Linked DNA regions of Homo sapiens: all the other regions are linked to region 1. The links are contacts of gene promoters, found by promoter capture Hi-C in human tissues and cell types (Jung and others, 2019). All regions are on one chromosome and are shown on one strand. The core of a region is centred on a gene start or on the middle of the fragment in contact, and the rest is flanking DNA. Distances in the headings are between cores, read along the strand shown.

Region 1 (3,901 bases), core at 973-3,472:
ACTTATTCTATTCACATTCTATGATTACAGAGGGAAAGTGGCTCTAATAAGATCAACTAAAATAGACAGTATTCTGCCTTCACAGCTCCAAGATTCTTAAGGTTCCCTTAAAACCCAAGGCATCTTGTGACTTTTACATGTAAGTTTCTCTTCCTGCTCCCTCCACTCAAAAACATACACAGTATACATTAGGTACTGGGTTTCCCCTCTAACTTACAGGGCACTGCCTCTTTACTGAAAAATAGAATTGTCATTGATATTTATGAGAAAGTTGGTGTCACTGACAATGGGATAACCAAATTTGCAAGATTGTCTCCATACCCCTTAATAGTCCAATAAAAATAGCAATAATAGCACAGTAACTCTTATTTTATTTAAAAATAAATGAACAACTCCAGCTTTTTTATGGCAAAACAGTTCATTGTGGCTGTTCACATAGCAATTATCATCCCCTTGCATCCCCAGGTAATGACTGTGACCTTGACCTAAAAGCCACCTTAGTTTGAATAAGGAAGACCTTGAAAGGAAAGGTGACTGACCAGAAACACTCTTAAGAGGCACACAATAAAGAAATGATCATTTCTAAGAAAGTACTTAAATAATACGTGATTATTTGCTATGCTAGTTGATGTGTTTCATTATAAGATAAACTTAAATCACTGTTTAATTAAAGAGTGTTTATTAGTAGCATAAGTCACTTTTCATGCCCTTCCCCTGAATCCCTAACTAAATCCAAACAGAAGCTCATCATTTTACACAGAAGCTCCTTAGACTCTGAAATCGTGATATTTACACATTATTAAAACCCATTTCCTAAGTTAGCTCCTCATGTCTCCCTGGTAGAAGAATGTCATCTGTTTCTGGAAGGGGTGGGGTGGGGGCTCTAGGAGTCTGCAAAGAGCATCTTATGCTTGGCTATCTTTCAATATAGCCATTTGATGAACTCGTGCGCTGCGCCTTCCAACTGCCAGGACTCCTAGTCGCTCTGCAAGTGCTTAGTTGGGGTCTCTCCTCTGTTAAGTCCGAAAGGCGTTTGGAATTCTTCCTTTCCATCCCCGCTCCTAGGACTCTCGCCTCTCAAGGCTTCATGCTACCGTCGATCTTAATGCCACAAGGAAACAGATGAGTGCTGATTGTCAGTTTATTGGGTAATGGATCTATTTATAGGTTTGGTGAGATTGGGAATTTATAGGTGAGCAACACTTAAGGGTGGCATAAAACCGTTGTGGGTTTGGAAGAGGGGAAATATAACAGGTTTGTACCTGTGACCATTTAGTTCGCTCTGCACCTGTGCCCTCCACTTCCCACCTGACGCCAGGAAAACCATCTGCCCCTCACTTCGAAGGTGAGCCTTAACTTCACCTAGAAAGTGGTGGGTGGGTGAAGGGGTGGAATCAGGCCGCCGAGAGCACGTCCCGACACCTCGGACTTTTCAGTTGCAGGGATGGAAGGTGGAGGCAGCCGGATCCTCCCATTCTGAGGCAGCGGGGACCTGGAGTTGCCCGTCTCTACTGCTGGCTCTCCCTGGGGAGAGGCGGCGCCTCTGGGAGCAGCCCGGGAGCCCCAGAGCCTTCGCGGAAGGGTGGGCAGTGCCGATGGGGCGCGCGCTGCCGCTCCGGCTGCAGCCAGCTTTCCATCACTTTTCCCAGTACTTTGCTCAGCAGCTGTCACGCATCCTTGGAGATAAGACCGAGAGGGCGCTAGAAAGGCCCAAAAGGCGTCCCCAGAAGAGCTCTCCTGTTAGGATGGGGACCCATCAGACCCCGCCCCGCCCTGCCCACCTTTCTCTGCCTCGGGGAGGCTGCCCTGGGTGCCCGCGCCGCGGCTCCTTAGCAGAGCTCGCGGGTTCTGCTGCATCTGCTGGCTCCGAGCGGCGAGAGGTTCTGCAATAAAGGCACGGATAAAACGCCCGGGTAATCGAAATCCGAATGCACCTCTTACCATTGGACCGCCGAACAATATTCTCCAGAAACGTGTTTTGAGGGGCCACTAGTCCCCTCCTGCCCCCAGCCATGGTCATCCTCCCAGCAGCTCGGGGTCCGGCGGGCGTCCTGGCGCGGCTTCTTACGACAGCAGGAAACTGGCCTCGGGGCCCGCACGCAGTCCCGGCTCGAAGCGCCCCATGCGCCCGGCGGGGATCCGCAGGCAGGGCTGGCGGCTCCCTCTGGCTGCTACCCTCGCGCCCTCTTCGCGCCTCCCTCCCTGCGGCCCGCCTCGCAGTGCACTCGCGCCGGCCTCGGCTAGCGGCAGCCGCCTCCGGGTGGGCGGAGGGAGCAGCGGCGCCTGGGCCGGCGGCGCCCCCTACCGGGCTCGTGCCCCACCGCCGGCCTGCGGGAGACCAAGCTGGGGGGCTCCCGCAGAGGCAGGGAAGTGGCGGGCGGCCGTGGACCAAGGCTGGGACGGCAGCGCCACCCTCTGGGTTCAGCCGGGAAATGTGTTCAGGATGTGCCATGGGCTGGGTGGAGAGGAGGGCATTGTGAGCAGCTTTCAGGGCGGATTCACCCCCAACAAGTCTTAGGGGAGCGTGCTGATGTAACTCTCTTCCTTTGCTCTGTTTCAGGCCGGGGCCCCCGGGACCTGTGAGGCTCTGGGAACACCTTCTTGCCTTCCTGTAAGGTTAGCCTGACTAGTGAAAGTTGCCCCACCTTGATTCTAGGCCAGTGTTTGAGCAGTAATTAATGAAGTCGTATTGCAATAGTGCAGATTTAGAGTGACTGGCAGATTCAGCTTCAGAAGAGTTGTCTTGGGTTGTTTTTACCGTAGACACAAATGCAGGCTCCTGATGTTTGGTATGATCAGTATCAAACTGCCTGACAAACATCAAAGGGGTGGACTTGTCTCTAAGGGCGAATGCTCAGGAGAGGGGCAGCATTAATTAAGCAACCGTGGCTTTGGCTTGAAGGGTAGTCTGTAGTGCAGAGGATACAGTTAGTTTTTACAGCTGACCCCTGGTATACGGAAGAACCACATACACCCAAGGTTTCTGGACAGGGGCTAAGACAACGGTCGTTTGTTCACTTATTTTGGGGGATTTCGACCCACACATAGTCTGTACCTGCCTTTTTACTATGTATCCCCAGTCGGTGCGGTGGGAGACTAAGCCTATGTCCCACAGGAGAAATGAATGGAGAGTTTACTAGTTTCAGACTGAGTCAACAGTCAACACAAAAATGTAAGAGAAAAAAAAACTAACCCTGAAAATTAATTGTCTGGGTTAGCCATCCTGACATATCCTAATGTATTGCAAAGACATCCTGTCTCAGTTAATTAATTTCAAAAACAGAAGAACTAATTCTTGCCCAGAAATCTCTCAGAGTTGCTGTGAAGATCAAGCAAGAATTATGTATGGGGACAGCACCTTAAATTGTAAAGTGCTGTGCCAAGGTCAGACGTCATTATTGGAGTGACTAAATAAATTGGGCCATTACGAATATCACCCTTTATCTCGTCTTGTGTAGAGACAAAGTAAACAGATTGCTGTTAGCAGAGAGTTGGATAAGACTGTCATAGGATTTGAAATGCAAGTAATGATACACTTTTTCCTTAAGATAGCCTTCTACCCATCGCCTGTTACCTAGTCTAGAACAGTGATTTCTTAAACCCTAGCTCCGTCTAGTGGTTCTTTGTTCTATTACAAATGAGATAACACTGGTTGAAGAGAACTTGATTCTGAAATGTATTTGGTGCTGAGCTGAGCCAGTTTGGTGCCTATCCACTTCATTTGAATAAGTTCATTTAAATAAGGTTTTTAAAGTTGTGTTATCGCACAAACATGCCAAGGGAAGATTTTTCATGACAATATTAAAAACCCATCAAGAAACCTCATAATCCTGCTTGTGAAAGGAAGATAAAGAAAATAATGTGGAGGGGAAAACTATCATAGAGAGTTAATAAAATTTCT
Region 2 (3,901 bases), core at 760-3,259, 460 kb before region 1:
CTCCCTATGCAGCAGCCACGTCACATGATCCCCGTTCCTTGGATGGCCTATAAGGTGGTCTTCCTCTAGTAGCTGGGCCCTGTCCCTTCCCATCTGACAAACTCTTGCTCAGCCCACGTGGCCCAGTTTAAATGTGCTCTGTGCATTCCATCATCTAGTGCTTACCACATGATCATAAATCCCACTGGTGTATGTGTGTGTCTTTCCCAAGTTGGAGTGGGAGTGCCTTTGACATGGGACTGTGTCTTTCCCTTTCGGCATCTTGTATCTTCCCCAGCATCTCTGGCTCTCCAAAGCCCCCAGTAAATGTTTGAGTAAGTGAAACATGCAGAAGACATGAAGATTGTTAAGTAACAAATACTCAGCAGAAAGGGCTGTTAATTTTAAAAAAAGAAGAAAAAGAAAAGAACATCAGATATTCTAAGACAAGTATTTGTAGAGGGAATCACTAAAAGCTTTCAGTTTTGAAAGCAAATATTTAATTTAGGCTCCCCCTTCTGTGTGCTTACAAATGGCACTAAATTCAGTATAATGCTTAATCTACATTTTGAGATTTACTATGGGACTCATGGACTTTAAGAAAAAAATGTAGTTCATTGTAAATGCCTACATTTCACAGTCGTTCGTTTCTTTTAACACACACAATTGGATTGACAAAGGTAATGACTTCCTAGCTAGCCATATTCAAAAGAAATGTCAAAAATTTAAATTTATAAAGCTCTCTGTGAAATGTTGTGATGCCCCAATCAAATGACCCTCCTGATCTTGCCCGGCACCCTTTCCCTCTTGGCTGCTGGCGCCTTCCTGTCTCATTGCCAAGGACAAGCCACGTCTGCATGTCTCTATCCCACCCCTCACCACTTAGAATTCTTGAAACCTCTGGGGAGGCTGACCAAGAAGGACAGAGGACCCTATATTTGGGCTTCTGGAACCTAAGTGCCCCAGGGCTCAGAGCTCCTATTAGTGTTATTTCACATTTACTACAAGTTTAAAAAAAAAAACACACAACGGTGATGATGACGGTGATTTTTGTGTCTTGTCCATGAATCACACAATATTATTCTAGGGGGAAACGTACCCTGATTTCAAACAACTCATCTAAAAGTACAGATTTTGGAACATGACCTACATGTTTACAGTGCCACATGAGACTACACTCAGACTCATGGACTTTTTTCCTTTTTCAATTACTAACTGCTTTAGTCCTCTAAACGTGGATTCTTCTTTTTTTTTTTTTTTTAAACCAATACTGGGTCTAACTCTGTGGCCCAAGCTGGAGTGCAGTGGCACACTCATAGCTCACTGTAACCTCTAACTCCTGATCTCAAGTGATCCTTCCTCCTTGGCCTCTCAAGTAGCTAGGACTACAGAAACATGCCACCATGCCTGGCTTATTTATTATTTATTTATTTATTTATTTATTTATTTATTTATTTATTTATTTATTTATGGTAGAGATGAGGTTTCACTATGTTTCCCAGGCTGGTCTCCAACTCTTGGACTCAAGTGATCCTCCCACCTCAGCCTTCCAAAGTGCCGGGATTACAGGTGCCTGGCTCTAAACATGGATTCGTTAAAAGCTTGCCCTATTTCTTTTTTTTTTTTTTATTATACTTTAAGTTTTAGGGTACATGTGCACATTGTGCAGGTTAGTTACATATGTATACATGTGCCATGCTGGTGCGCTGCACCCACTAACTCGTCATAAACATGGTTTGTGTTTGCAATAGTGCACTCCTCATTTTATGCTGACTCTGATGGGAATGTAGGACTCAATTGCTGAAGTTGTCATTACAGCAGACTTTCCTGGAGGCCTTTGTTGTTTGTCAGGTTGCCTTCTCCAAAAGGGGACAGTTTGCCCATGTGGGATGTCCTGCCCCAAGCATTTCTAACTGCTCTTCCATCTCTGTCCTCCCTCTGCAGGCTGGCCTTGGGTGACCCTCTCTGTCCTGGGATTCCTGTACTGCTACTCCCACGTGGGCATTGCCTGGGCCCAGACCTACGCCACGGACTAATGCTGTTGGGCCCAGGCCAGTCCTTGTTGCTGGCCTCCAAGGCAAATAGTGCTTCACCCTGACCTCTCACTCCAGGACAGCCTCTAAGGGATTTGATCTGCTCATCTTCAGTTGAATGCCCTCACTCCAAGACTGGATGCTGGATCTCATAGAAAATTCACAGCCAGACAATCTTCTAATCTGGAGTCTTTGAGATCTTCTACCCCAACTCATCATTTTCCTATTGAGGAAACGGGTCCAGGGCAGTCGTGTGTCTTACCCAGCTACACAGGGTGACATTTTGGTCTAGAACCTAGTCTCATGAGCCCTTTGCATTCTTTCCCCTTAAGCAAGAATAGAATGTAGTGGAAATTTATTGATTGAGACACAGAAATCCTGATTAGTGATAGGCCTGTCTTCTGGGCAATATTTCTAAAATATTTGAGTGACATTGATGTTTAAGTGACCTCCTTCATCACATCCTGCAGTATCTCCAGAAGCAGCACTAGGGTTTGAGTTTCATGCTTCAGCCCCTCTGTAGGAATGAGACCAAGCCACAGCTGTCTTTTGAATTACGTAGTCGAAGAAGACGGTAGCAGCCCTGTAGCATTCTAAGGCATCTATACCCAAGGAGTCCTGTGATCTGAGCTTCAGCAGGGTGATCTACATTTGGGTGCTTGTTTCTGAGATTTGCAGAGAAGTATAACATGGTAGTTCCTCTACCTTACAGTTAATCGTTTCTTAATAAAGAAGCAGAATTTAGAAACCACAGGATAGTGTACCCACAGATGGGTGTTATCAAGGCCAGTCATGAGGATGGTGTCCTGGAGTCTTGTCCACCCTCTCCATACAAGTCTCAAAAGTCATCCTCCTACTCAGTGATTCACGTTTAGTGGTTTATATTATTAAGGTTTGATTCAAACAGAGCCTTTTCTGTCCTGTAGATAATCTACATGTTTGTAGAATTATTTTGAATATGTTTGAGGAAAATGTTTAAAATCTAAATATACTCACATAACTTGATTATTCACTCCTCTGAAAAGATGCTGGATAGGCTACCAAAGTTCCCAAGTGGTAGATAATTCAGAAGACTTGTTTGAATTTGGATTTTTTTTTTTTTTGGAGTGGGGAAGGGTATAAAGGAGGCTTAAAATTTGAATCCATAATATATCTAATTACAGGAGAATTTACAACATCTCAAGTACGTAAATTAAGTTGTCATTGAGTGAAAGGTTCACTTGGACCTAGTGCTGCCTCCTGTTTATTACATAGCATGGCCCTTATGTCTTGAGTTGAGGTTATCATCTCAATGAGGCTTTAGCTCCTAGAGTACAGGACCATTTTGTTGATTGTCTTTCTTCATAGCTTCTCTGCTTGGCAAAGAGATGGGAGGGGGCCAGATACTGACTACCTGGGGTAGGCACATTATGTGTTAAAGCAAGACAGAGGCCAGAGAGGGGCAGGTAGACCTGCATAGCAGCAGCCTCAGCAGCTGTCTTGGTAAAGGAGAGAGAGAGACATGGGGCCAGTAATTCCGGGGTGCTCAGAAGTTTTAGGAGGGGATGAGCCTCAGGGAGGAGTGAGCACCTAAATGAACGCAGTAAACCTTCATGGACCAACAGTGATTGAGGATTTGTGGGCAGCCAGAGGGAGTCTGACTGAAGTTTACTTGGAAAGAAAGGGCTTGCTAAGAAAAAAGGGAGTAAAAATGATGATAGGGAAGTGTCTAATGTATGTGCACATATAAGTAATACAAAAGTTTTGAGCTCTTCCAAGTATACCATTTATATACAAACAAATAGGTTTATTCATTCATTAAACTACTTTGGAAGCGTCAGTGGATATATTTGAAAGTGGTAATCCTGAATCTCTTTTAAACTATTATATGATTCATAATGGTTCTCAGG
Region 3 (3,901 bases), core at 586-3,085, 430 kb before region 1:
TTACTATCCCATATAAGGACTTTAAGCCAACCCCCTGAATTTTAGGCTGCAGTTTACCTCCTTCTCACCCCATGGTGATTTGTGCTTCTAAGGACAGAGCTTTCTTGGGCTTTGCAAGAGAAAAGAAAAAAGGCTCCTTTTCCATTTTAGCCCCTTCTGCATCTGTGCTGCAGCTTCTTCCACTTTACTACATCAGTTACCTTTCCTCCGTCTGCCTTCCGTCTTTCAAAATTACTTATCTGCTACTTTCTCTTCTCCCAAGTTTTAACAAATTAGTCCTTCTAGGTTTCTATATTTTAAAAAATTGTTTTTATATCATTTCATTGGGTTTTCTGGAAAGTGAAGAAATAGATGTTTGTGGCTAATCTCCCACATTTAACACAATTTTATTATTTTAATTAATTTTTAAAATATATACCAGAAGCCCTTTCTAACTAACTAAGGATCCAGAAGTCATAAAATAAAAATAAATTTGGGTCCATAAAAATCCCTTCTGCATGGCACAACATGTGCAAGTTAAAAGACAAATGGCAAAATGGGAAAATACTTGTAATTTATGACAAAAACTGCTCCTAAAAATAATAAAAGACACCAATATTCCTATTTTTAGAATAGATAAGAGAGATCACAGAAAAGGAAATTTAAATGACTGGTAAGCATATGAAAAAATACCACTCTTGAAATGTATCAGATTGCTCAAAATCCAGAAGTCTCACCCCACACTTTGATAATAGGATGTGGGGAAACAAGCCTTCTCATACATCACTGGCAAGTTTAACCCTTTTGGATATCAGATTTCTCATCTATAAAATAGAGCTAGTAACAGTGCCTACCTGCTTTATACAGTAATTGCAAGGACTAAAAGAAATAATGCATTTAAAGTGCCTAACAAACACACAACTAGTACACATTTAATAAATGCTACTTATTAACATATATTTGCTTGTGTCATTATGTTTTTCTTCAATGATAATGCTACAAAAGACAAGATTAAATGCTGCCTTCCTAACTAACTCTCCCATAAGATCTCTGAGGACAGAGACTATATTTCTGTGTCCCTTCCAGGGCCCTGCATAGAGCAGGACACAAAGAAGTGTGTGGTCATGAAACACCTGATCTTTGAGGGACAGTATCCATTTGTATGTAAAATCTGTAATCTCGGGCTTGTGCTTAGTTTCTAATTAATTATACTGTGAATTGGCCCAGCCCCAGAGCAGGAGGGCATAGAAGGAACAGCTAGAATTCAGGCACCAGCAAGGGGAATGTCAGTATTCAAAGATGGTGCTCCATGATAAAGTGCAGCGTGCACCCCCATAGGCCAAGTGCTCTACGAGAGACAAGACACACCTCTCCAGGACTGTCACCAGTGCCCAGCTGTTAGTGTAAGAAAACAATGCCAGGGCAAGGAGAGGTGCCCTGGGCCAGAGCAGACATCACAATTCAATCTCCCTGGGTCAAGGGTGGGGAAAGCTTCTGGTGCCACCTGAGAACATGTGTCGAAGGCAGCAGCTCTTCCTGCCCCTACTGTGAAGTCTGAAGGAAGGGAGGGGGCTGAGGAGCAGTACAATGCTCTGCTGTCTCAATAGCAGGAGGGTCCTTGACTTCCTGGCCATTTCAGCGTTTAGGTTATCAACCTCATTTCTAATAACAATCGCCACGCCTAGAAGATTAGTAGGCCTATCACAGCCTTTCCTTCAATTCACTCCTATGTCAACTCCTTTGTTTCCTCTGATAACAAAGGCAGAGGAGTCCAAGGGTGATGCTAAAACCGGAAGGGACCTGGTCTAGTGCTCTGTCTTCAGGCCAGTGACTTTCTAAACTATCCCATGAAGACAGCCATTACTTCTGCCATTATTAGCAATACGAAAATTGACATTTGTTCCTACTTTGTGGTTGACAGAAAGCCAGCACACACATTATCTCATTTGGGATCACATATATGGGGCAAGTGTCCTTATTTTGTATAAATGAGATGACAGAGGCTGAGAGAGACAAGATCCATGGCTCTTCCAAACCCAAATGCTATTCTCCTTTTGAAGGTTTAGAGTTAAAAGTCCATATATACCTCAGTAGCCAAACCTGTATCTAATCATCTAACAGTAAATTTATAAACCTACACATAATTTGGTCTTTTATTTAAACCCAGTTCCACTGGCTCACTCTTTCACACACATGGAGAGCAACTGGTCAATACCATTCCTCCCTACACACACTTTGCAGAGCCAGGGACGGCAAATGATTCATCTAGAAACCTCATTGCTGGACTGCAAGCCCAAGCTCTCCTTCCCTTCTCTGGGGTTTGTGGGGTTGAAGGTTGGGAGGGTTGGGTGGAGGTAGGGGGTCCTTGGTCTGAATTTTCCAGGGCAGGAAATGGGGAGAGGAAGGTAGGGAGGTGGGGCGGCCCCTGCGCAGGAGACAAGAATTGATCTCACTTGCATTACCAACTTTGAAGAAAGAAAGACACATTTCATCCTCCCTCCCCTCTACCACTCCCTGCCAGGCTGAGGGTGGGGAAAAGAGCCGAGGGCACCCGCTGAGAAGTATCTGAAATAGGCAAGACCTGCCAGCTTCTCCAGAGGAGGCCAGTTTGCAGGCCTGCAGATTCTCATTCGTCCACTTGCTCAAGCCCCTGAGTTGCTGACAAAGCTGGCAGAGAAGAACTGCAGGCCTCACAAGTCTCTCCTCCCTGGGGGTTTAACATTCACCTAGTGTAACACATGGAGGTCAGACAGAGAAAACTAACTTCCAGAGAGGTGTAATTTTAGGCTAACCAAACAGCATCCATCCAAGCAACAGTGATAGAGTCTTGGGGCTGGCTGTCCCAGGAGCTGGGGAGCAGAATTCTGGTCCCATTGAAGCCAGAGGGTCGACCCTGGCCCAGAGGTAGAACCCATTTGGCTTTAGTTTCCATAGCCAAAAAAGAAAAGAGGCTAAAACCACTCTAAATCTGACACCATTGCTTTGAAGATATGATAAAAGGAAAGTGCCCAGATGATGGATCTCAGGGCTTTCAACTCTGAGGTCTCCTGATCTCTCCTTGGTCTTCCCTCCTCCTATGGGATCAGCATTTCCCCCATGCTCTGTAGCTCTAAGTCAGGGTCTCCTCTTGTGATCAGCCATCTCTCCTTCCTTACCTCCCCCACTGCCTAGTTATGCTGTGTGTCTCCCCAGTATCTGGGCACCTCGATCCTAATCCCACTCTGCTTCTACACCAGGCCAGCCCTAAACAGTGTTCCTCTGACTATAATCATAATCAGCAGCAGCACTGAATGCTAAGAGCCAGGTGATATTTGCATATTGTATTTTACTTTACCCTTGCAATGAGCCTAACGTAGGTGTTATCACTGGCCCCATTTGACAGATGAAGGGATTGAGACTTGGAGTGGTTAAGTGGAAGCAACAAGACTCGAACCCAGAGAGTTAGGTTCCAGATCCTGTCCTTTTGCCAATTAGTTCTAAACCTCGTCACTAGTTTAATTCATTCTGAAATTTCCCCTCTTCCACAAAGCCTTCTGTAGTAAACAGGAAGAGGAAGTTCCCCTTCCAGATTCACTCAGGCTTTGCCGCCATCAGCTCCATGAAATTTAGACACCAGCTCTTGCAGGGGTGGACCGTGCCTGGGTGGGGAGCATTCTACAGAGGGCTTGCTGTGCCCCTTCTGAGTCCCCAGTCATTGATATGTGCAGGGGATGCAAATAACCTTTAATATTTGCAGGAGCAAAATGCAGCGTGGAAAGTAAAATCTAACACAAAATAAGCAAAGCATTTGAAAGTCAAATAAAACTGACCTTTGCTTTAGCCACTATTTGGGATTATGTGAGCCATGGCTGGTGACTCAGAACCTGTTTGATGGATACCTAATGATTTAATTAGAACCACAAACTGTCAGGGCTGGAAAGGA
Region 4 (3,901 bases), core at 655-3,154, 410 kb before region 1:
GGACACTTTAGCTGAGACATCTTAGTTGAGACATAAAAGCTTGGCTAATCAGAACCATCAGCTTGTCACTGCCATTCAATTAACCCTTTCTTCTATGTCAGACTGTGGCTTCTAACTGCATTAAGACCTTCCTGGCTAGCATTCCCTCTTGTGAAACTGCTGTTGATAATGGCATCCCAATGCCCATAGCCCGTAGCTGCACTACACAGACACATTTCACTGTCAGAATTACCTATGAAAGTATTTCTGAACCCCTAGATGTGACACATTAGGCTCCATCTTACAAGGAGCTTTAAGGTATTCATTCAGTTTTTTATACATTAATTCAAGATACATTTACTGAGCACCCTCCCTATTCTAGATACTGCCCTATACACCAGACAAAAAACACCAAGTAATGTCCAGACTCAGATCTAAGAAAGCTTCCAGTCTTGTGTGAAAGCTTGAAACATGGAAGGCAATTATAACCCAATGGGTGGCTAAATGATGGACCTGCCTATGGCTCTCTCAACTCAGTCTGGGGGTAGGGGGTGATCAGGGAAGCCCTCTTGGACAAGAAGAAGCTTGAATGGAGGAAATCTGCACAGAGGTATGAACGATGAACAGGCTTTTAATGCTGTAGAAGCTCATTTCTGCAGGGCAGCTAAGACTATACCTGTCTCATTCAAAGGTTTCAAATGGCTCTCAAGGCTCTTCAGAAAATGGCTTTCTAGCCCCTTCTCCTTCCCAGTCCCCCGTGCTGAGCCACTACTCTGTTTCCCAACCAGCCCTTACATATCCATATATTTCCCTTCTTGTTAGGGCTGTGTTCTTTGTCAGGAATGTCCATTATCCTCTGTCTGTTGGGCTTCTCCTCACCCTTCAAGACCCAGTACAAATGTCACTTTCTCTGCAAAGACTTCCCTACCTCTGACAATCACAGGACTTGTGACATTATATTATAGTTATCTGTGTGCCTATCTGAGCCACAAGCTTCTGGAGGACAAGACTGCATCTTAGTCATATTCACATTCCCAGAGTTTGGCAGATAGAAAGTGTATTATATGCCTTCTTTTTGACAAAGGAATGGAAGAACAAAGTAACACATCAAAAATTTATAAGAACATTTTCATCCATTTCAATGCAAAAGGAGGTAGAGTCTCCCCGGAAGAGGCTACAAATTGGGGTAAATGAACAGGATCCTGGTATCAGCTCCTGACAAGCCAAGGAGCAGCACTTGCCCAACTTCTGAAAAGGAAGTTATTTGGTGACTCGCTGATGTGCAATAACACCATAAGCAAGCAGAAACAAATGGGGAGACTTGGGAGCAAATTGATTATTCATGAATCCAATTACAACTAATAGCTCAAGAAAGACCCCTCTCAGATGCCTATAATAATTCATGCAGAGGACAGAAGGAACCCTGCCAGGTTGGCATCTGGGTCCTGAAGTGTCAGGGAGCTTGGACAGGTATGTAGCAAATCATCTCAGGGAGGCAAGCTCAACTTCTTAGACTCAATGCTGACAGGACCAGGGTCATGCTCAGGTCCCCTTGGGCTAGTTCACAGCCCAGAGACAAATTTTCTGTGGACAGAGCCTGTGCTCCCTTACCTAAGCCAGTCACCCACAACATTTATCTTATTTTAAAGTCAGCAACCTCAGATGCAGGATCAGGTAATTAAGCAGAGGGATTTAATAAAACCTTTTTATTAAATGAGCAGTGTGTGAGTTCTCCTGCTCACATACTGTAGTGAACCCCAAACAGGGTGAGTCAAAAACATGCCTAAGTGGTTCAGAACCATGGACAGTTCCCCGGCGGGGGTGGGGTGGACTACTCTCCTCTATTCATTTAAAAGTGCAGGTTCCAGCTTAGAAGTGCCTGCTTACTCAACCCTCAATAGAGAGGGGTGGGTATGGAAACCCTTCCCATGTCTTTTATTATGAATGTAGTGAGAAACCAGAATGAGCTCAGGGAGGTGGAGGCCATCCCTTTGTCACCACTCTCAGTCTGGCTGACCCTACTTGGGCATGGGTTAAAAAGTCAACAATTGCTAATGATGATGAATGATTACTTATGTCTTGATGGTGTGTGGGATTAGGAAGAGCACAAATGTCTTTTCTTACTCTATCACGAGTTCCTCATACTGTAGGAGAAACTATTCTGGCCACAGACAGAGATGTGTATTTCAATGGGAGAAAAAGAGAAGTATGTAGAAGTATATACTTTGGTATTAAAGCCCCATATTTGATCAGCAAGGCAAAGGCATATTCCCACTAAGTCTCCTTCATGGTAAGTATTTGACAGTTCTAATGTGCTCATAGAGGCTTATCTTACTCAATAAGCCCACAGGAGAAAGGCCTCTGCTTAAAATATATACATATTTTGATAGCGATACAGTCTCCCTATGTTGCCTAGTCTGGTCTTGAACTCCTGGCCTCAAGAAATCCTCCACCTTGGCCTCCTAAAGAGCTGAGATTACAGGTGTGAGCCACCAAAGCCTGGTCCTCTGGTTAACTTTTCATTGTCCACGAGGAAATAGTGGGTAGGGTGTGTTTAACTATAGGCATAGGAGCAGGATGAGGTATTCACAATCTAAAAAAAATGTATCTAGATGTTCTGCCATTAGATACACAAAAGATTACCCTTCTCTCAAACAAAACAAGCTCCTTTTAATAAAGGAATCAGGGAGTTTGGTCCTTTGGAAATAATTTAATAAGCTTTCTCTGGAATCCAGTTTCAGCTAACATGCAAGAACCAGGCACATTTTCATCCCCTTTCCAATATTCAAAACAGTCCACAAGGCACTCATGGAATAGGAAGGAGTAAAGCTTTAAAAGAAAAAACGCTGAAGCACATCTCCTGTCTCTGCATTGTCTGCACAGCTAATCTCAAGGGATCTCAGTAATCCTCCAAACAAAAGAGACTGATCTAAACTACAAAGCAACTGTGAATGAACCACTGAATCAGGACAAATGAGACCAGGAGGTTCTAACCCTGTGTTCTCTATGGTCAGCAGACAACCTGCACCAGAATCAATTGATACTTGTTAAAATGCAGACTCCTAGGGAACATCAAATATCTACTGAATCTTAATCTCTCGGGTTGTTATCAGAACCTACATTCTAAAATAGGCTCTTCCTGAAGGAAGGTTGGTAAACAACTGCTCTAAGCCATAATGAATGTAGGCTTAGGAGTCTGAAGACTCTTGGCCCCCTTGTCTGAGTTCTGATGAGTTGTGTGTTTTCAGAATGTCATTGTGCCCTCTTTAGTGACAATCTTGGAGCCTGAGACCACATGAAAGAGACTGTGAGTTACTTTCATTTCCAGTGCCTGGCACATAAGGAATTCTTAATGAATGGTGAATAGTGAAATGAATAAATAGATGATAATGAGAGACCACACAGTAGGACAGGTGATAAAAAGGATGGAGTAATGAACAAATGAAGACCAATGGTGAAATAATAGATTTCAGTATAACAATTACCAAACATGACTTAGAATTAACGTTTTGCCTTGATGACATGGAAATCTTAAATAAATTTCTCTCTGGTCATTCTATGTCATTTACTTAAAATGGGAAAAGACATGGGGGACTGCTGGTTTGAGGTATGTGTGCAGAGGTCCCATGTGCACCCAGCACACACACACGTGCTTACACACACAGCCATCCAGGGACGCAGCTGCCACACTAAATATTGATTAGCAACAGGAGGAGCCAGTTTTAGGTGCATTTACAAAGGAAAAGCAGGCTTGAATAGACAGCCCCTTAGGTAGAAAGTACAGCTCTATATTTTGATGGCTTTGCCACTTCACCTGGCATAGATAGGGCCAGCAAATGTCTTGCTGGGAACCAGCTGTGCTGGGCATGCTGCTCTTCTCTGACCCCAAATCTGCATCCCAACCTGCTAAAGGGCCCTCATT
Region 5 (3,901 bases), core at 680-3,179, 380 kb before region 1:
TGCCAGGCAGGCATCAGTTCTGAGGTGCTTTTCTAACTGGAAGGCTGGACTTGGCTTTGTGGTGACTTGCCCATCCTCCCTGGCTGGACTGTCTCACCCCACAGCCTCCTGTCACCCTTGAGTCCTCCCTGTATTAGCCCTCTTGAACCAGGCTTCCCACTCCCCAGATTTATTCAGAACCTCAGGCCTGAAACCTCCACTTGGCCCTTCACACCCCACCTGTCCTACCTGCTCCCACTGCCCCAGGCTTTGGCCTTCTGGCTGTTTCCTGTTCACAGACTCTCCTTGCCCTGTCCACTTGGCTCTGCTCCGGCTTCCTCCTCTTGCCTTCCTGTACTGCCCCAGTTTGAATTCTCCCCAGGCTCTCCTGCTTTCGGTAGCCAGGTTTGGCCTCATTTTAGAGGCTTGGCTCTTGATACCCTGCAGTCCCTCGTCTTGCTCAAATGCCACCAGGGTCCCACTATGTCCACCCAGCCCCTCAAAAAGAATCCTAATAAGAAAGTTCTTCAGTTCCCTTGGCTGGATGGGAAAGCTACCTCAGGCCACCTCAGAGCCCAGGCAGGCTCACTGCCTGCAAACAGAGAGGCAGAAACATATAGAACTCCCAAGAGAGGCTTCTGGGAGAGATTTTACCTGAGCTTTTAAGTAAAAGGAGATAATGGATGGCCAGATTTTCACTAGAGAGAGAAAACCTTGTATGGGGGAAACCTAACAGCAAAGAACAGACAGCATGAGCAATACCCACAGGGCCCTAGTGGTAATGAACAGTTCTATATCATGCCCAAGTCCTCAGTGTCAGGGTGTTCAATCAGCAACACAGCATCACCTGGGCGCTTATTAGAAATGCAGAATTTTGACCCCTCTCCTGACCTACTGAATTGGAACCTACTTGGAACCTGATTTTTAACAAGATCCCAGATGATTTGTGTGCAGATTACAGGTTAAGAGACACCAGTTTATAGAAATAACTTGGGACATAGGCAACTTCCCTTGGCCACCTCTGTCAGTGGAATGTTGTGAGGACCCCTGCATGACAGGAGCCAAGGCTGCTCACTTTTTTTTTTTTTTTTTTGAGATGGAGCCTCGCTCTGTCATCCAGCCTAGAGTACAATGGCGTGATCTCATCTCATTGCGGCCTCCTCCTCCCAGGTTCAAGTGATTCTCATGCCTCAGCCTCCCGAGTAGCTGGGACTACAGGCACACACCACCATGCCTGGCTAATTTTTGTATTTTTAGTAGAGATGGGGTTTCATCATGCTGGCCAGGCTGGTCTCAAACTCCTGATCTCAGGTGATCTGCCCACCTCCGTCTCCCAAAGTGCTGGGATTACAGGCGTGAGCCGCCGCGTCCAGCTGGCTGCTTGCTATCTTACTGCAGGCACGTGGGCTGAAATGTGGGCAGCAGAAAGAGCATGGGATCTGGAATTGAGGATGTGACTTCAAGCTCTGATTTGATCACACACTCCCACATACCACAGTTTGCTCCTTTGAGCCTCAGATTCCCCAAATGGAAAAATAGGGATAATAACAATAATACCAACCTCATAAAGTTGTAGCAAGGATCCGATAAGATAAAATATGTGAAAGTGCCTTGTCCAAAGTAAAGCAGAGTACAGACGCTAACTGTGCTATTTGTGTCCTGTACACACACGAGGACTTGCACACATTTTAGAGTTCTAAGCCAGGAAGGTCACCCAGCCTGTTACTTCAATAGACTCAGCTGCATCGAAAACATTTAAAGGCAGCAACAAGTAGGTCCTGATGAGTTTATCTGGGGCACAAAGGGAAAAATCAGACATAATTTTGGGTCTGGTAGAAACTGAGCCCAGGACAAGGTTTAAGAATCTAACTGCTCATCCCAAATCTTCAGTTTCATAAGCCAAGTCACAGGAAGGAATCTTGGTCTTCTAATTATACTGTCAAATCTCTTAAGCTGTAGGTGGTAGCTTTTTTGGCTGGGCCAGGATGGGATTACAGGGGAATCAAAAGATAAAGATAGGAATTACAAGTCAAGCAGGGACAGGTGGCAGGGAATGAGCCAATGTAAGATGGGATTTCGGAAGCCTCTTTCCAATGCCATCTTGTTTAAGACATTTGTATCTTACACTCTCCAGAGCAAACTGGATGGGCAGATACTATTAGAATCCAAGTTTGGGATGACTCTTAAAAATATGAGAGCTCATCTAATGTTCTCATTTTACAATGAACACAATTGAGGTTAAGAACTTGCCCTGGTGGCAAATTTGGAGTAGAATCCAAGTTCTGGCACCTAGTCCAGGGCAACAGGTACTTCTCTTAAGAGACACTGATCAATTCAGTCACTTAAGAGCCTCCAGAGGAAGAATAATGGACTGGTGCTAAGCTGGTAGGAGTTTCCTAGGCAGAGCTTTCTGGAGGAGGCATCTTTGAGTTGTGGTTCTATAGAGAGGAGAGTTATGTCTGGGGTTCCAGTACTCCCAGGCCCTCTTTGATGTGGTGTAGGAAACTGAGAGGGTCATCTACATAGACTGAGTTACAGTTTGGGCTGAGGTGGAGCAGAAGAGAGAGAAGGTCAGGAGGCTGATGAGCTGGACGCAAGCTCAGAAATCACATTGATGAGGCTGCATTTGACAGAAGAGCTGGGAGGGCTGTGCAGGGACAGAGCCAGGACTAGATGCCCATCCTCACACGAAGAAAGCAGTTTTAGTGGCTGTATGACAAATGACTAGAAGAAGATAGAGCCTGGACATAAAATTCAATTTTAAGAATTTTAGCAAGAGTCAGAAGAGGCTAAGTGTGGAGTAGGGCAACCAATGATCCCAGTTTGCCTGGGACTAAGGGGTTTCCCAGGATGCAAGGCTTTAAGTGCTAACGTTAGGACAGTTCCAGGCAAAGTGAGACAGCTAGTCACCCTGGTGTAGTGGGTAGGGGCCACTGGGGTAGCGGCCTGGCTGGACCTGAGGGTGCCTGCTGCTGAGAGGTAGGAGAAGAGGGGGGCTGAAAATGTGAGGGTGGAATCCTCACTAACTTTTGACTTGAAGTGCAAAGGCTGAGTGGAAATTTAGCTGTGGTTCCAGTAGCTTAAATTATTGTTTACAACATTGAGGCACTGTATGAAGAAATGCAAGAAATAAAAATATGAATAAAGCCCCCAAATCCAGGAGAAATATTAGACATGTGCTGAACCATATAAGAAACCATAGGCGATACCTGCTCTAAAGGACAAGCAGAACACCATGGAAACACAAATTAGAGAAGAGAGAGATTCCAGCTGGATGTAGACTGAGGAAGGCTGCAAGCAGAAAACAGAATCTGAGCTGGATTTTGAAGGCCAGATTGGGTTTTGATGGGAGGAGGTAAGGTAGTGTGAAGGACATGCCGAAGTGAGTACACTGCATGTTCTGTAACTATTGTAGCCCAGTGGGGCAAAGGTATCAGGCAAAAGAATGAAGATACAATCTGAACTGCAACTGGAAATACAAGTTTATAGAAGATCCCTGGGTCTGGATTTTACTCCAAGGCTGTAAGGAATCATCGAAGATTTTAGAACAAGAAAAGGACAGAGATCAGAGCTTGAAAGTCAACAAAAGGTTGTTCTTAACCAGCTATAATGAAGGAGAGTCCATAACTCCTTGGGTATCACTTACCACCAGCTCATAACTCCTGGCAGCCGGAAGCTCTAATGTCTAACACAAATCTCTTTCCTGAGATCCTGATGTCCGCTGTGCTTTGTGAATCTCTCCGTCAAGCAGAGAGTTCCACTGGTTTCTATGTAGCTGCGCTTCATGAGAAGGCAAAGGAAGCTGATATTTTACTCTGAGAGTCAAAGGAACTGTCAATTAACCAAATACTTGGACCTTCTTCCAAGAACTTCTGGGGAGAAGAAACACAGTTTACATAAGAATATTTTCTGCATAAAAAGA
Region 6 (3,901 bases), core at 1,025-3,524, 330 kb before region 1:
AACATTCATGTGCAAGTTTTTATGTGAACATATTTTCAATTCTTTTGTGTATATACCTAGGAGTGAAATTGCTGGGTCATACGGTTACTAGGTTTAACATGTTGGAGAAATTGCAGAATTGATTTCCAAAGTAACTGCACCACTTTACATTCCTGCCAGCAGTCTATAAGAGTTCCAGTGTCTCAATATCCTCATTAACAATTGTTATTGTGTCTTTTTCAATTATCACCTTTCTAGTGAGTATGACTTGCCATCTCATTGTGGTTTTGATTTGCATTTCCATACAGCTAATGATGTTAAGCTTCTTTTCATGTGCTTATTGGTCATTTATATATCTTCTTTGGAGAAATCAAATCTTTGCCCATTTTTCAATTTTTTTTTTATTGTTGAGTTCTAAGAACCCTTTTATATAATCTGGATACAAGTCCCTTCTCAGATAAATGATTTGAAAATACTTTCTCATATCCCATGGGTTGTGGTATCATTTTTGGTGGTATCATTTACAGCACAAAAGGTTTTAGCTTTGATGTAGCTCATTGTACTTATTTTTTTTCTTTTGTACTCTTCTTTGGTTTATTTGATTCAGCGTATTTTGGGATTCATCCATGTTACTGCATGTATTGTTTAATAATAGTTCATGTCTCTTTTTAAATAAGAAAAGCAAACACTTTACTTGAAATAATTAGAAATTTACAAGAAGCTTTGGGAGACCGAGGCAGGCGGATCACCTGAGGTCAGGAGTTCGAGACCAGCCTGGCCAATATGGTGAAACCCCATCTCTACCAAAAAAAAAAAAAAAAAAAAAAAAAAAAAATATATATATATATATATAAATTTGCCGGGCATGGTGGTGCACACGAGTAGTCCCAGCTATTTGGGAGGCTGAGGCAGGAGAATCGCTTGAACCCAGGAGGCAGAGTTTGCAGTGAGCCAAGATCACACCACTGCACTCCAGCCTGGGTAGCAGAGCAAGACTCCATCTCAAAAAAAAAAAAAAATTCACAAGAAGTTGCCAAGATGGTACAGAAAAATTCTGTGTACCCTTCACCCAGTTTCCCCCATTAATTACATCTTACAGCACAATATCAAGAACAGACTGATATTGCTATAAAGTATATGTATAGTTCTGTGTCATTTTATCACGTGTAGATTCATTTAACCAACACTACATTCAAAATACAGAATTCTTCTATCACCACAGAGATCTCCTTGTGCTTCCCCTTTATGGTCACGCTTCCCTCAGCAATCACAACCTTTTTCTCCTTTATTATAATTATGTCATTTTAAGAATGTTATAAAAGCCAGGCACAGTGGCTCATGCCTGTAATCCCAGCACTTTGGGAGGCCAAGGCGGGCAGATCACTTGAGGCCAGGAGTTTAAGACCAGCCTGGTCAACATGGCAAAGCCCTGTCTCTACTAAAAAAACAAACAAAAAAATTTAGCCAGGCATGGTGGCACATGCCTGTAGTCCCAGCAACTTGGAAGGCTAAGGCACAAGAATCACTTGAACCTGGGAGGTGCATGTTGCGTGAGCCAAGATTGTGCCACTGCACTCCAGCCTGGGTGGGTGACAAAGCGAGACTGTCTCAAAAAGATAAATAAATAAATAAATAATAATAATAATAATAATGTTACAGAAATGGAATCACACAGTATGTGACCTTTTGAGATTGTCTTTTTTAACTCATCAAAATCTTCCAAGTTGTTGCATGTTTCAATAGTTCCTTCCTTTTAGTTGATGAATACTATCCCATTGTATGGATGTACCACAACCATTTCTTCCAAGTAATCTTATTCAGTGTTAGCTGACATACTATGGGAGGCAAAAAAATAAGAGAGAAATGCATGGATCTAGAGATAAGGGAAGGACTGAGGACACAAATCCACCAAAAGAGAGTTATAAACAAGGATCAAAGAGTTCTCTGGAAAAGTACCAGGGAGTGGTGTCAATCTGAACAAAAGGAGCCGGACAAAAAGCAGACACCTGCTCTTCTAAGCTCATAGATAGCCTCATAACAATGCAGTTGAAGGTCCTGTCTCCTCCATGCCAATAGTGACATGAAGTGTGGTCAGAACTAACCATCCTCCCAGGAGATGGGCTAGTTGTCTTTTTCCAGTGAGTCTGACTCTAACTCAACAAGCCTATGTGGGCAGTCCTGCTTCAGCTCTGTTTTCTGATTCACAATGAACCAGGAGTCACAGGAAAAGAGTAGATGTGCCTCTTTTTAGGATGGATCCCAGAAAATTAATTTAATCTTGAGCCTAAAACAATAGTTACACCAAATCAATATAGTAAGAATAGCTCTTTTGTCCATGATCTGAGAGAACCAGGCAGCAGGTCAGACATCAAGCAGGGATGGACAACCATCATTTACAGCTCAGGGCTGCTCTTGTTCTAGGGTGCTTCTGAGGCATTCTGGAAGGTTAAGGGTCCTCAGGAGGCCCTTGCTCAATTACAATTACTATTATGAAATATTATTACATTAAAGGTGGATAATTATTGTCTCAATGCCCCTTCCTTAATTTTTTTTCCTTTTTCTTTTTTTAATAAAATAGCGACATGTTCTCACAATGTTGCCCAGGCTGGTCTCGAACTCCTGGCCTCAAGCAGTCCTCCCACCTCAGCCTCCCAAAGTGCTGGAATTACAGATGTGAGCTACCATGGCCAGCCCCTAATTTTATATGAAGGGGGATTACATGTTTTTCATGCACGTAACGTTTAATTTATATTGGTATCTTATATATAAAGCATTACACCTTAAATACTAAAAACCTAACTGGGAGAGAAGACATGTAAGTCCAGTTGTCACCTGAATAGATATATGAGTGTGATGTAGAGAGGAAGGGAGGGAGATTGTAACACCACTGTCAGGAAACTAAAAAAGCAAGAACGAACCTCCCAGTGCAGAAGGTGTTATGGATGCCTCCAAATGTGGATTCTTTGGGTCCTTCTATTTTCAGAAAGGAAGGAGACCTCCCCCAACCTCAAGGCAAAATGCTGATTTGGAGAAGAAGGGGTTTCTTTCATATTTCAGTGGTTTAGAGTTTATACTATATCACAGCGATTCCTACCCAGAAAGAAAGAAAGAAAAAAGATAGTATTCTCCAGCCCTTAATTAGAAATAGCTATATGGAATTTGGCTGGGGAGGTGGGGGAGGGAGGGAGGGTGTAGCAAAAACACATATCTTTATCAATTTCATTTTCTTAAATTTTTCCTGGAAGCTTCTGAACTGTGCCATTGCCATTTGTGTGAATCTTTCCTGTGAACTGAAAATGACAAGGTTCATAAATTTGGAAAGGAGAGCTTTATTTCTCATAAAGGATTGCAGCTTGCAGGGGGCTGTTCTGACAGGCTGGGAAGCATAGCCTCCAGCCAGAAACCAGAAGCAGACACTTCAAGAGGGAGAAGAATAAGACAAAGATGTATGGTGAATGGGGTGGCCAAATATATATATTAAATAAGCTATAGGAGGGACCATGAATATTCATAAAAAGAGAAACATGCATGTGAACAACTGAGTTTCATGCTTCCCCATGGGACCCATGTTCAAAAAATGGCAGCATTAGCATGAACCAAGGATGGAGTTTTTAAAGCAGAGTACATGAAAACCCTCACTGTGCATCCTCCATAGACTAGCCAGAACCACTCTGTAGTGAGTGGTCTCTTATCAGGAAGGAATCCAGTTCAGCTGTTTTGTGAAAATCACAAAAGGGAGGAGCAGCATCAGTGATTATCAGTGGTGGAGTCTTTCAAACGGGCTGGTTTCTGTTTAGTCTTAGGGAAGAAAGACTAAGGGCGTTTAGTGAGATAGGGGTTATAACAAAGCATGTTTAACCTCTCATCCTATTATGGCCAGGAACTCAGTTTCCAAGGCTTCTCTGAAGTCCCCTTGGCCAAG
Region 7 (3,901 bases), core at 485-2,984, 280 kb before region 1:
TATAAATTCTATTCAATTTAATTTGCATGTGAGTTGAGTTCTGTCAAGACTCAATAGTCCATGTTAACAATCTACGTTCTAGATCATTAGTGCAAGAGTGGACTCTAGCGTCTCACCCACATGCAGTCCTTTATATCACTGACATTACTGGCCTTCTATGATAAGCCCTATAACTAAAGTTGTTTTTTTCAGTGATGGAAGTTAATTTGCACTGAGCCATAAGTACCATCTTCTCTGTCCCATCTTTTGAATAACAGCATAAATCTGCGAGATAGTTGGTCAAGATAGAATCTTGGTCACGTGACATTTTTCTGTATGAAAAATAAATTAGGTTCTTATGAGGCCCAAGCATGAAATTTTGGCTTCATAATAATATACTATATATTTGACTTCATAATAACATCTTACCAACTGGGCCCCCATTTCAATTTTTTTTCTACTTTATGATTCTTCTCAAATAAACTACAGATTCCTTAATTGCATGTGTGGCAGAGCACATTATTAGGTGTTATAGAGGTTACAAAGGTAAAGAGTTAAGTGTCTTAGACCTTAAAAAGCTTAGAGTATAGCAGAGAAAGAAATGTACACAACTAATTACAATTCAAGGCAAAGTAAAATAACTTTAAGAGAAAAAAAGATTAAGTAGTACACTAAAAGGCAATGCAAGATTACTTCTAGATAGAAGGATATCAACTCCTTCTTTAAAGATGTGAGCATTGGAACCTGGCCTTACACATATACATACATGTGTATGTGTATTATGTGTGCATATTAAAATATACATATACTTGTACAGAATCCTATAAACATTCTACTATATGGATACAATTCAGACAAAATTAAAAACAACAGAATTCCCTCTAAGAATTTCTGTAAGGATTCATTTGGATTACCATTGCCTCCTTGGAGGATTTGAATTAGAATAGAGTTTGTCAAACCATGGTTTTAAGCCATGAGCCTTTTTTTGCGTGTGTGTGCTTTTCTTTCTTTCTTTTTTTTTTTTTTTTTGAGACGGAGTTTTGCTCTTTTTTGCCCAGACTGGAGTTCAATGGCATGATCTCAGCTCACTGCAACCTCCACCTCCCGGGTTCAAGCGATTCTCATGCCTCAGCCTCCTGGGTAGCTGGGATTACAAGCATGCACCACCACACCCAGCTAGTTTTGTATTTTTACCAGAGACGGGGTTTCTCCATGTTGGTTAGGCTGGTCTCAAATTCCCGACCTCAGGTGATCCGCCCACCTCAGCCTCCCAAAGTGCTGGGATTACAGGCATGAGCCACTGTGCCCAGCTGCCATGAGCCTTTTAATCAAGCAACAATTCAAATAGAAGTTCAATATGTAAAACAAAGAATAGCTACTTAGATGGGAGAAGAAGGAGCTCCATCTACCCCACCCCTTTCCCAAACTTGCCCACAGCCCAGGGTGGAAACTCCTTGAAAAGATGACCAATAAATCCCTTCCTGCTGTTACTGTCTGTGATTTAAGTGTAAGTCCATGGAGCACATGGTAAACCACAGCACTGTGTGTCTTAGAAGGAACAATAAATAATAATAAAATTTTAAAAAATAAATAAATAAAAATAAAGATATAATTGACATGTTAAATCTACAGAATAAAAAAGAATAAAATGTGGGGAAAAAAAAGAAAATTTTAGCATCTCCTTCGTGACCAAAATTATCATGAGCAAAACTAGATAGAATGTAACCATTCCCCTAGCTCTAAGTGTGCAGGTCACTTGCACACTTGCAGCTCTAAGTGCAAGGCTCATACATGAGCTGTGAAAGACACTGATTAGCAGGAAGAGATGAAGCAAATAATTAACTTTTATCTAAAAACATCTGGGGCCAGGTGCGGTGGCTCAGGCCTGTAATCCCATCCTTTTGGGAGGCTGAGGCAGATGGATCACTTGAGGTCAGGATTTAAGACCAGCCTAGCCAACATGGTGAAACCCAGTCTCTACTGAAGAAAAAAAAAATACCAAAAAAAAGTAGCTGGGCGTGGTGGCGCGCACCTGTAGCTCCAGCTACTCGGGAGGCTGAGGCATGAGAATCGCTTGAATCCGGGAGGCGGAGGTTGCAGTGAGTCGAGATCCTGTCACCGCACTCCAGCCTGGATGACAGAGTGAGACTCTGTCTCAAAAAGAAAAAATGTTTTTTAAAAAAGCATTTGGATCTGTGTTAAATGCAGAACCCAGAAATTAACTGCTGAATCCAAAGGGGGCTTTGGAGATGTGCAGGCCTATCACTCCTCCCACAGTTCTGCTAGCTTGGCCTTGGCAAAGCAAGAACTCTGGAGGGACTTTGGGGCACCAGCTCAGGCCTGACACAGCAGTCTCAACAGCAAGCCAAGAGGCAGAACAATGCCACTCTAACATCATGATTCACAGTGAGTGAAAGCCACAATAAAGCTTTTCATCAGAGGAAAGGGAAAATAGGCTTTGTTTATCAGCATCCTGGGGGAGATCAAAAGCCTACTTTCTAGAGCTTGTTCCAGATGTCTCTTCTACCTCTTTAGAGCCTACTGGCCTCCAACAGCCATGCTCAGTATCTCTCATTTCATGCACAAAAAGGTCATTTCAGGCACAGCAAGAGAGCAGGCAGCTCTCTGCATTCTCATGCTGCCAAATCAACCTTCTCACTCACCTAAAGAGCTGTTCAATATTTGTCTTCATGGCCCACGTATCCTCAGAAGACAAAGCCATGTGCTGTCTGCTCTGGGACACAGAAAAAGGAGTTAATCCAGCTTTCTCTCTGAGTTGACTAAATAATGCTAAATGATTCTCTCTGGTCACAGCACTGCCAGCCTTTGGAAAGTGATGACTCCTGAGCCCAAGAAGCTCCCAACTAATAGAGAACATGTTGTTGTCTCCCTCAAAGTGTTCTTGGTCTAGTGTGTTTGGGTACCTTGTTCTTTCACTTTCTCATTTCTTGAGCTAAGACATAACTATTACAGCCAAAATAACCTACTTCTATCATCCCAACAGTGTGGTAGGAAAGCTATGTTCTTAAAATAAATGTCACACGACACCGTAAAGTGAAGCAACACTGGATTTGAGAGTCAGGAACTAGATTAGTGTCATACCTCTGCCATTCACTAGGTGGGTAACTTTGAGAGTCACATTACCTCTCTGACCTTTAGTTTCATCAATTGGAGATATACCTATTCAAAAATCAATAAATACCATCTTGTGTCACTTAACAATAAGACACAGTTTGGGAAATACATTTTTAGGTGATCCCATCCTTGTGTGAGCATCATAGAGTATACTCATATGAACCTAGATGGGATACCTACTATAATCTCAGGCTATGTGGTATAGCCTGTTGCTCCTAGGCTACAAACCTGTACGCCTTGTTACTGTACTAAATGCTGTAAGCTATAATAACACGATGGTAAGTATCTGGGTATCTACAAATACCTAAACATAGAAAAGACACAGTAAAAATATGGTATTATAACATATGGGAACCACCATCCTTTACGCGGTTTGTTGTTGAGTGAAATGTTATGTGGCACATGACTGTATTTACTGAGTCCCTGCCTACTACATGCCAGGAATCATGCTAAATGCTAAGGATATTCTGGTGAGCAAATCAGACTTGGCCTTTGCCCCCACACAGTTTAAAGACTAACAGAAGAGAAAGAGAGTAAATAAGGAAACAAATATATATTTACAAATTAGAAGTGTTTGGAAGAATAAAAAAACAATGTGCTTAGAAAGAAAGCATGATGGAGAATGAGGCTTTTTCCCTCTGGAGGTACAGAAAGCATCTCTAAGGGGAGTATGTGTGAGGGAGGAGGAAAAGCCATCAGAGAAAACAGTGGAGAAGGGGGATTCCAGGCTGACGGAACATCATAGGCAAAGGCCCAGAGGGAAGGAGGGGCTTGGCATGTTCAAAAG

Evidence for each region. The method cuts DNA at HindIII sites, captures the fragments that hold promoters and counts their contacts. A contact is called where the count stands out against the background at its distance.
Region 2: a fragment that was not itself captured here is called in contact with the fragment with the promoter of KCNH1 in region 1 in 1 of the 25 tissues and cell types used here (dorsolateral prefrontal cortex).
Region 3: a contact is called between a fragment that was not itself captured here and the fragment with the promoter of KCNH1 in region 1, in 1 of the 25 tissues and cell types used here (H1 embryonic stem cells).
Region 4: a fragment that was not itself captured here is called in contact with the fragment with the promoter of KCNH1 in region 1 in 2 of the 25 tissues and cell types used here (bladder and heart right ventricle).
Region 5: a fragment that was not itself captured here is called in contact with the fragment with the promoter of KCNH1 in region 1 in 1 of the 25 tissues and cell types used here (dorsolateral prefrontal cortex).
Region 6: a fragment that was not itself captured here is called in contact with the fragment with the promoter of KCNH1 in region 1 in 2 of the 25 tissues and cell types used here (dorsolateral prefrontal cortex and hippocampus).
Region 7: a fragment that was not itself captured here is called in contact with the fragment with the promoter of KCNH1 in region 1 in 1 of the 25 tissues and cell types used here (mesendoderm cells).

What each region holds. Positions count from the first base shown.
Region 1 is chr1:211,131,926-211,135,826 of GRCh38, forward strand. KCNH1 (potassium voltage-gated channel subfamily H member 1) reads right to left here and starts at 2,223. Exons shown (of 11, transcript NM_172362.3): 1 at 1,942-2,223. The coding sequence starts at 2,020. It overlaps KCNH1-IT1 (KCNH1 intronic transcript 1), which reads right to left and starts at 1,449. Exons shown (of 2, transcript NR_046784.1): 1 at 1,263-1,449; 2 at 354-1,101. RefSeq lists silencers at 13-213, 1,440-1,630, 2,125-2,404. The HindIII fragment of the contact is 15,184 bases long and covers 1-3,901 here.
Region 2 is chr1:210,672,365-210,676,265 of GRCh38, forward strand. It overlaps HHAT (hedgehog acyltransferase), which reads left to right. Exons shown (of 12, transcript NM_018194.6): 12 at 1,924-3,901. The coding sequence ends at 2,015. Among named protein-coding and RNA genes, the nearest start is that of HHAT, 350 kb to the left of the region's middle. The HindIII fragment of the contact is 4,839 bases long and covers 1-3,901 here.
Region 3 is chr1:210,702,663-210,706,563 of GRCh38, forward strand. The region is part of intron 10 of KCNH1 (potassium voltage-gated channel subfamily H member 1); the gene reads right to left. Among named protein-coding and RNA genes, the nearest start is that of HHAT, 380 kb to the left of the region's middle. The HindIII fragment of the contact is 4,546 bases long and covers 1-3,901 here.
Region 4 is chr1:210,725,015-210,728,915 of GRCh38, forward strand. All of the region lies in intron 10 of KCNH1 (potassium voltage-gated channel subfamily H member 1), which reads right to left. The region is part of intron 2 of LOC105372901 (a long non-coding RNA gene); the gene reads left to right. Among named protein-coding and RNA genes, the nearest start is that of HHAT, 400 kb to the left of the region's middle. RefSeq lists a silencer at 1,680-1,880. The HindIII fragment of the contact is 3,349 bases long and covers 231-3,579 here.
Region 5 is chr1:210,748,689-210,752,589 of GRCh38, forward strand. The region is part of intron 10 of KCNH1 (potassium voltage-gated channel subfamily H member 1); the gene reads right to left. The region is part of intron 3 of LOC105372901 (a long non-coding RNA gene); the gene reads left to right. Among named protein-coding and RNA genes, the nearest start is that of KCNH1-IT1, 380 kb to the right of the region's middle. The HindIII fragment of the contact is 7,340 bases long and covers 1-3,901 here.
Region 6 is chr1:210,806,024-210,809,924 of GRCh38, forward strand. The region is part of intron 7 of KCNH1 (potassium voltage-gated channel subfamily H member 1); the gene reads right to left. Among named protein-coding and RNA genes, the nearest start is that of KCNH1-IT1, 330 kb to the right of the region's middle. The HindIII fragment of the contact is 3,548 bases long and covers 501-3,901 here.
Region 7 is chr1:210,848,375-210,852,275 of GRCh38, forward strand. All of the region lies in intron 7 of KCNH1 (potassium voltage-gated channel subfamily H member 1), which reads right to left. Among named protein-coding and RNA genes, the nearest start is that of KCNH1-IT1, 280 kb to the right of the region's middle. The HindIII fragment of the contact is 5,917 bases long and covers 1-3,901 here.